Linked DNA regions of Homo sapiens: regions 1 and 2 are each linked to region 3. The links are contacts of gene promoters, found by promoter capture Hi-C in blood cells and fetal thymus (Javierre and others, 2016). All regions are on one chromosome and are shown on one strand. Each heading gives the region's core, a stretch centred on a gene start or on the middle of the fragment in contact. The rest is flanking DNA. Distances are from core to core; before and after follow the strand shown. Region 1 holds the start of PSD (pleckstrin and Sec7 domain containing). Region 2 holds the start of KCNIP2-AS1 (KCNIP2 antisense RNA 1). Region 3 overlaps PPRC1 (PPARG related coactivator 1).

Region 1 (2,700 bases), core at 149-2,648, 270 kb after region 3:
TCAAAGTTGAGTGAGCCCGGAGTTCTTATGGCACTTTGGAGCTACTTCTAGAATAGGGGAAGTTGGTACCCCACCCTCTGGAAAAGGGGTGTCAGCCAGCTGTCACCATCATACAGCCCTGTGACCCCTATAGTCTCTCTTATGGAGGCCCCTCACTCAGGGAAGGGAAACTCAGGCCTCCTGGAAGGAGAGGGAAGAGGAACAGGTGTTATATAGGGATGCTGAAGGGCTGAGAGGCACAGCATGGAAGTGGGGAGAAAAGCCTGAGCAGAGGCTCCTACCCCCAATATATACATACTGAGTGGGAAAGGGACATTCTTCTTTTTTTTTTTTTTTTTTGAGATGGAGTTTCGCCCCTGCTGCCCAGGCTGGAGTGGAATGGCGCTATCTCAGCTCACTGCAACCTCCGCCTCCCAAGTTCAAGTGATTCTCCTGCCTCAGACTCCTGAATAGCTTGGATTACAGGCGCTCAGCACTATGCCTGGCTAATTTTTGTATTTTTAGTAGAGATGGAGTTTCACCATGTTGTCCAGGCTAGTTTCAAACTCCTGACCTCAGGGGATCCACCCACTTTGGCCTCCCAAAGTGTTGGGATTACAGGCGTGAGCCACCGCACCCGGCCAGGGACATTCTTTTCTTCATACAGGTACAGACAGGCACCTACACACACACAAACACACACACACACACACACACACACACACGCACACACATACATAAGGACAAATATGTCAGTACACAGTTAAACACATTCATAGGCAACACCCTCTGGCACACACACAGACACACACACACACACACTGCTCAAAGACACACCCTCATGCACTCTCACAGTCATAACAAGTATGTGTGTAATGAAAAGGCACATGCTTGTTTTACACACACACCATCATCAAACAGGAACACACAAAGAGGTACCCAAATATATACACAAGCTGTCATTCTCCAGTGCACACAGAGGTCCAGGTGTATCAGACACTCACAGAGACCTACTGCTCACAGTCACATACACATACAGATGTACACATACAGATGTACACACTCAAGCAGGGACACACACCGTCCCCTCCCCCCCACCTACTGGGGTCTCTTGAGGGGAATCTGCACCCATATTCCTCTCCTCTCCCTCTCTCCCCAGGGGTAAGACAGATCCCGCCCAGGAGAGACCATAACCAGGTAAAGGGGCCTCTGGTGGCAATGCAGGGGAGGGGCAGAGGTCAGGAGTAGCAACCCTGCCAGGCAGGTTCCGGAAGCTCAACGGGGTCCCAGCGCATACCCGGTGCAGCCCCAACTCAATGCCACCTCAGTACTCACCGCTGCTCGCCCAGAGCTGAGACCGAGGAGAGACAGAGGAGAGGCTGGGCCCAGCTGAGCTGTGAAGGCAGCGCGGCTCCCGTTTGCTCCAGGCCCGCCCGCCTCTCAGTCCCTCCCCCTACCCCCTACGCGCCGCTCAGGCAACGCTAATCCCCCCCACCCCCCGCCCTCTCCCAGGGCCCAGAGCCCCGGAGGCTGCCAGCCCCCCTTGTCGCTAGGTCCCCGCTGGGCTCTCCCGCCAACCTAAGACCCGCCCCAGACAAGGAGGAGGGCGCATGGAACCCCTGGTTCTATTCCCCAGACCCTCACGTGCCCCACCCCACTTGTGTCCACGTCTCTCTCGCCCACCGCCCCTTGAGCCACACGTAAGGCCCGGCTGCACACGCGTGTCCCGCTCCAGACCCCACGCGTGTCCCTAGGAGGCTGCCACATGACCTGTTACATGCCACACGCGCTCCCGCCCCCACGAGCACGCGGCCGCGCCAAGCACACGGTATGGGTGTAGACTGGACCCGCCCCCTAAATCCAGGAGACCATCAACTATGGAAAGGAGATCTAGGGAACACCGTCTTGAACCCGCCAGGGGTTTTGAGTCTCGGACCCAGGAGATCCAACCCTGACCACCCTCCCAGGATGCAGCAGGGGGATGTTAAATCAGACTTCAGGAAGAACTTCCTTGCTGCCTGAGTTAGGTGTCGTCACGCCTGCCCAGGGGTAAGAGGTTAGACGGGATGAACTAGGGACCGGAAGACGTGGGGGACCGGCAACCCTTGTGCCCTTGGCCAGGGTAGAAGGGGGCCCTGCTATTTTAAGAAAGAGCCGCTGGAGTTACTATGGCAACTACTCTCTTTGGGAGGGCCAGGGCGGGCAGATGGTGACCTCGGAAGGAAGAAGGGGTCTGTTCGGGCAGTCAGGGGGCGCGAGGACGTGCGAGGCGGGGGCGCGCGGGGCTCACCGCGGGGAGGGGCGGCGCGGACTCCGCGTGGTGCTGAAGGGGACAGCGCCAGATTTGTCGCACTGCGCAGGCGCAGAGGCGCGAACAAAGAGGGGAGGGGGACGAGGCGCGCGGCCGGAGGTGGTGCGCGCTCACGTGGCTCTATCTTTGCAGGGGTCTGTCCTCCCAGCTACCCCCTCCCTAAGCAGGCTGAGGAAGAAGAGATAGCAAGCCCTCACCTAACTTGACCCCTTTCTTGTCTCTCCCCGCTGCTAGCTTCTCCCTTCTCGCTGCCTTGCGGGGTGGGGAAACGTGGAAGGAATTCTGGGAAAACCAGATGTCTGGGTTCTCTATTCCCGTCTGGCTTGATTCTGGACAAGGGGCTTCCTCTCCAGGGCCTCGGTTTCCCCATCTTTAAAATGGACTGATAGCATAGACCTGCCCACCTTTCA
Region 2 (2,700 bases), core at 47-2,546, 330 kb before region 3:
CCGAGGACAGAACGTGTTAGTGCCAAAACGGGGAGGGAAGGAGGGCGCTCACCTTCCACCACACCGCAGAGGAACCGCCGAGCCCCTCCTGCAGCCCCGGCCACCGCCGCTCCCCCAGCCCCGGCGGGGTTGTCTTCTCCGGGTGCCGGAGCTGCCGGCGGCTCCAGCGATGCCCCCGCAGAGGCGGCAGGGTTGGAGCTGAGCTCGCTCTCCCGCTCCTCCAACGTCGCTTGACTCTCCTTCTGCACCATCCTCCTGCCCCCGGCCGCTGCCACCTCTGCGGGTCCTCCTCGACCTCTGTCCGTTGGGGCACCGGCCCGGAGCCCTGGAGAGGGCTTCAGCTCCAAGTGTGCGCCCCTCCGGCTCCTTCCCCTCCCCCTCTGCCCTTCCCCCTCCCTCTCCGCAGGGACCCGAATGCCCGGATGAGAAGGGCGGCGGCACCGGCGCGAGCCCTTTGTCAGCCGCAGCCTCGGCTTTAAGCTGGGGCGCCAGAAGCCTAAGCGGAGAGCGAGGCTGTGACCTCTCGTTCCCTGGAAGAAGACGGCCAAGGGTCCTGTCCTCGTTCTCTGCCTCTGCTGCCCTCCCGATAATCTTAGGTCTTCCGCTGTTTCCCCTCCAAGCCCCGAGCTCTCCCTCTGCTGCTGCCTCCACCGCCCGCTTCCTGTTTATCCGCACTGCGCTTGCGCTGCAGACCGGCTCAGACCGGTCCCCTCCGCCCGGCTCCCCCGCCTTCTTTGGGGCTAGCCTATTAAGCTTCTTTAGGTAGGGGGAAATAGAACAGGAGACGCGAAAAGCAGAAGGTAATGAAGGCAGTGGAATGTACCATTTCTGCTTGCCACCCTCCGAAACAAGCCTGGCACCCTGGGACGGACGGACCATTACCCGCCCCGAAGGAGGGGAGTATGGGAGGAGGCTGCCGCCGGTTGGGGCAATAGGGAGAAGGGGGGAAGGTGAAAAGGAGAGGTGTTTATTCTCTCAGTGCGCAGGCGCGGAGCCGCGGCCTCTCGTTCTTAAAGAGATAGGAAAGAACTGACCTACTTTCTATGGAGATTCTTGTAATAGGTGGGCTCATTACATCTGCCTAACCCAGGCTTGGTTCGGTAAAGACACCATTCCAAGGAGCTCAGCTCACCCCTCTGCCTTGAATCATTTTCCCCTAATCCCATTTAAAATGTAATCATTCGTTCATTCCTTCATTCAGTAGACATCTATAGAGCTTGCCTCGTGCTGGGCTCTAGAACACTATGAGCTCACAGTACGGTGGTGGAGACAAGCCACCACACACGCAGTTCCCACAAGGTGTCCCCAAGAACTTCGGAGCTCAGAACAGGTGATACTCACTCCTCCTTTGGGGAGAGGCCGTGGGCATGGCTTCACTTTTCAGCTGGATTATAAAGGATGTGAAGTTAGCCTGACTGAGCAGAAGGGGAGGGAAGACAGCACTCCAGGAAAGTGGAACGAACAACAGAGTCCAAAGGTAGGGAGGCATGAAAAGCCTGCCTTGTTTGGGAATGGGGAGCGCGCGGTGTGTGCAGTGGGGCATGAGATCCCTTCGGCCTCGGCATGGGCATCGCTTCCTTGGGAAGCCTTCCCTGAGCCCTAGATGGGTTTGGGTCTCCTTGCTGTATGTTCTCAGAGCTCTCTTGTAGACCTACCCTAATGCACTTTACATTTATGATGCTTGAGAAATCTATCTCAACCTGTGAGGTATAAACATGAAATGATGATTAAGACTTAGTAATGTCCATCTTACACTTCAGTCTGATATTTACCTTCTTTAGCCGTAGCCCAACTTGTAGTTTCAGGGACTTTCATGGTCCCTCTTCTTTTCAGTCCTGGATTGTTGAGATGGGGGTTAGGAGCAAACTTTTTTTTTTTTTTTGAGACAGAGTTTCACTCTGTCGCCCAGGCTGGAGCGCAGGAGCGCAGTGGCGCAATCTCGGCTCACTGCAGCCTTCACCTCCTGGGCTCAGGCTATTCTCCTGCCTCAACCTCTCGAGTAGCTGAGACTACAGGCACCCGCCACCACACCCGGCTAATTTTGTGTTTTTAATAGAGACGGGGTTTCGCCACGTTGACTAGGCTAGTCTTGAACTCCTGACCTCAGGTGATCCACCTGCCTCGGCCTCCCAAAGTGCTGGGATTACAGGTGTGAGCCACCGCGCCCGGCCGGACAAGCATTTTCTTAAGGGACCTCCTGTGCTGAGAGTTAGGGGCCATAGCAGCTTTACTGGATATTGTGGTCCGTTGGGGTTGAGAACACAATTTTTTTTTTTTTTTTTTTTTTGTAAGAGAAGAGGTCTCATTTTGCCACGCAGGCTAGTGCAATCATAGCTTAAGTATCGAATTCCTGGGCTCTCAAGGGATCTTCCCGCCTTAGCCATCCCGAGTAGCTGGGACTATAGGCGAGTGCCCGCCACCACACTCTTTTAATTTGTTCATTTTTGGTAGAGACGGGGGTCTCAACATCTTGCCCAAGCTGGTCTCAAACTCTTGGGCTCAGGTGATCCTCCAGTCTCAGCCTCCCAAAGTGCTGGGATTACAGACACGTGCCACCTCACCTGGCCGAAAAGAACTTTTATCTGAGGAATGAGAGTCCTTTTAAATTATCAGGCCCAGATGGCTGGGCGCAGTGTTGGTGTTTGCAACCAGCCTGGGCAATATTGCCAGACCCAGTCTTTATAAAAAAATAAAAATAGG
Region 3 (2,700 bases), core at 59-2,558:
GGAGCAGGACCCCCCCAAAAAAGATGCCTGCCCTAGTCATTCCAGAGGTGGGCTCCCGATGGAATGTCAAGCGCCATCAGGACATCACCATCAAACCTGTCTTGTCCTTGGGCCCAGCTGCCCCTCCGCCCCCATGCATAGCTGCCTCCCGGGAGCCGCTTGATCACAGGACTAGCAGTGAGCAGGCAGATCCCTCAGCACCCTGCCTTGCCCCATCCAGCTTGCTGTCCCCTGAGGCCTCACCCTGCCGGAATGACATGAACACTAGGACTCCCCCTGAACCCTCAGCCAAGCAGCGGTCAATGCGCTGTTACCGAAAAGCCTGCAGGTCAGCCAGCCCCTCAAGCCAGGGCTGGCAGGGCCGCCGAGGCCGCAACAGCCGTTCTGTCAGCTCTGGGTCCAACCGGACTAGCGAAGCATCTTCCTCATCCTCATCATCGTCTTCCTCATCCCGATCTCGGTCCAGGTCCCTCTCCCCCCCACACAAGAGGTGGCGAAGGTGAGCTTTGATGGCCCTGTAGGTCCTCTCCATTTAGGAAGTTCACGTACTTCTGTGGTTTACTTTGAAAGCTTTTACCCGTTGACTTTGGTACTTTCAGGCGCTAAGGCTTCTATTTCTGACTTTGGCTTTTGTGTTTTCCCTTTTCCTGGATTGTTGAAGGAGGCAAGCTGTGAGACAATTGCTTCTGTCCCCTGTTGGAGCTTGGGGTGTCAGGTCTCCTGCTTCTTTGAGACCTGCCTTGGGGAGACTTTTAGGGTTTGATTTTGACCATGTTGATTTTTTTCACATACTGTATCAGCCTTCATTTTTGGTATTCTGGGCGCTATGTGAGGTAGTGGGTTACTTGTTAATAGAAAATAGTTCTTCCCTTAATCATCTGCTGAGGAAGGTGTCTGGGGCAGTTCCTTTGGGTGTCACTATGGCCTCATCTATTTCCTGGCAGTATCTTTTTTTCTCAGTAACCAAGTTTTCCCACTTAATGAAGAATTCTTGGGTTTTGGAGATGATATATGTCTTCAGAACTGGCCCATACTACAAGTCTAGCAGTTAACCTCTCTCATGGTCACAGTATTTCAGTGAGACCTGGTAGGGGAGCAATAGTAACCCAAAAGACCCAGGCTTGGCCCCAGCACCACAGATAGCTGGGTGTGAGACCTAGGGCTCACCCCTCTCCCTGAGTCTCCATTTATTGTTCTTCCTCTTTCTGATTTGTTAAATATTTTTCAATTTTTAAGTGCACAATTGAAAATGTGATCTCTTCCAAAACACTTCACAACATTCCAGGTACACCTAAAGTTCCATGAAGGGCCTCAGTTTGTTCATCTCTGAATGAAAATTGTTCTTCTAGACCTCTTCTACTCTGCTTTGTCTTTGGTCCTGAGCTTCCTAAAAGAAAGGCAGGACTGGGGCCTGGGTGAGATAAGCAGAGTATACCTGAACCACTCCCAGCATTCCTGCATGCCCTCTTATCCTTCAGGTCCAGCTGTAGTTCCTCTGGACGTTCTCGAAGATGCTCTTCCTCTTCTTCGTCATCATCTTCCTCTTCGTCTTCCTCATCCTCATCATCCAGTTCTCGAAGCCGCTCACGATCCCCATCCCCCCGCCGGAGAAGTGACAGGAGGCGGCGGTGAGCATGTGTTCAGGGAGCGCCATGCACCTGGGATGCAGGTGCCTAAGAGTTGAGTCTTGAATTGTCTTATGTTTGGGGGGCTGATGACACCCTCTTTTGTCAGGTACAGCTCTTATCGTTCACATGACCATTACCAAAGGCAAAGAGTGCTACAAAAGGAGCGTGCAATAGTGAGTAGAGGAACAGATCATGGGAGGATGGGGCTTACCCCCTGAGCCTTGAGCTCAGAGAGCTGCCTGCAGCTGTAGCCCTGGCTAATGGTGTGTTGATTTTTTTTCATTTCCAAACATAGGAAGAAAGAAGGGTGGTCTTCATTGGAAAGATACCTGGCCGCATGACTCGATCAGAGCTGAAACAGAGGTTCTCCGTTTTTGGAGAGATTGAGGAGTGCACCATCCACTTCCGTGTCCAAGGGTAAGCTTGGGCCCCAGGCTCAGGATGTTCTTTCTATCCCATTCATCTACCTTGGTGTTTCTTTGTCTTGCCTCCTTGCTCTGGTGTGCTGAGCAATATGGGGCACCTTCATTTCTGCAGTCAGAGGGTTGGCCACTGGGAATGAGAAGAACCACCTCTGTACCTTGGGATGCTGTGTCTCCTCTATGGCATGGGCCCATATAGCCACTCCAGCCCCTGCCTCACTCTCCTCCTACTAGGGACAACTACGGCTTCGTCACTTATCGCTATGCTGAGGAGGCATTTGCAGCCATTGAGAGTGGCCACAAGCTGCGGCAGGCAGATGAGCAGCCCTTTGATCTCTGCTTTGGGGGCCGAAGGCAGTTCTGCAAGAGGAGCTATTCTGATCTTGGTGAGTGGAGGGAGGGCCTAAAGCTTTGGAATGCTTCATCCCCTCCCCAGAAGGGTTCCTAACCCTTTGTGAGTGGGGCTAGGCAGACTTACCTTAGTTTGACATACAAAGAACCCAAGGGGGCTGGGCATGGTGGCTCACGCCTGTAATCCCAGCACTTTGGGAGGCTGAGGCAGGCAAATCACGAGGTCAGGAGTTCGAGACCAGCCTGGCCAACATGATGAAACCCCATCTCTACCAAAAATAGAAAAAATTAGCTAGAGG

The links. The method cuts DNA at HindIII sites, captures the fragments that hold promoters and counts their contacts. A CHiCAGO score of 5 or more calls a contact.
Region 1: a contact is called between the fragment with the promoter of PSD here and a fragment that was not itself captured in region 3, in 6 of 17 cell types (endothelial precursors, M1 macrophages, erythroblasts and 3 more). The highest score is 9.3, in endothelial precursors.
Region 2: the fragment with the promoter of KCNIP2-AS1 here is called in contact with a fragment that was not itself captured in region 3 in 7 of 17 cell types (naive B cells, total CD8 T cells, total B cells and 4 more); the score reaches 11.8 in naive B cells.

Annotation. Positions count from the first base shown.
Region 1 is chr10:102,417,387-102,420,086 of GRCh38, forward strand. It overlaps PSD (pleckstrin and Sec7 domain containing), which reads right to left and starts at 1,399. Exons shown (of 17, transcript NM_002779.5): 1 at 1,315-1,399. The HindIII fragment of the contact is 10,611 bases long and covers 1-2,700 here.
Region 2 is chr10:101,817,772-101,820,471 of GRCh38, forward strand. It overlaps KCNIP2-AS1 (KCNIP2 antisense RNA 1), which reads left to right and starts at 1,297. Exons shown (of 3, transcript NR_045118.1): 1 at 1,297-1,477. OGA (O-GlcNAcase) reads right to left here and starts at 673. Exons shown (of 16, transcript NM_012215.5): 1 at 53-673. The coding sequence starts at 251. RefSeq lists enhancers at 206-781, 583-702 and silencers at 233-292, 373-432. The HindIII fragment of the contact is 3,022 bases long and covers 752-2,700 here.
Region 3 is chr10:102,146,894-102,149,593 of GRCh38, forward strand. PPRC1 (PPARG related coactivator 1) reads left to right here. Exons shown (of 14, transcript NM_015062.5): 9 at 1-499; 10 at 1,479-1,628; 11 at 1,735-1,801; 12 at 1,924-2,045; 13 at 2,285-2,436. Among named protein-coding and RNA genes, the nearest start is that of NOLC1, 4.1 kb to the right of the region's middle. The HindIII fragment of the contact is 1,480 bases long and covers 569-2,048 here.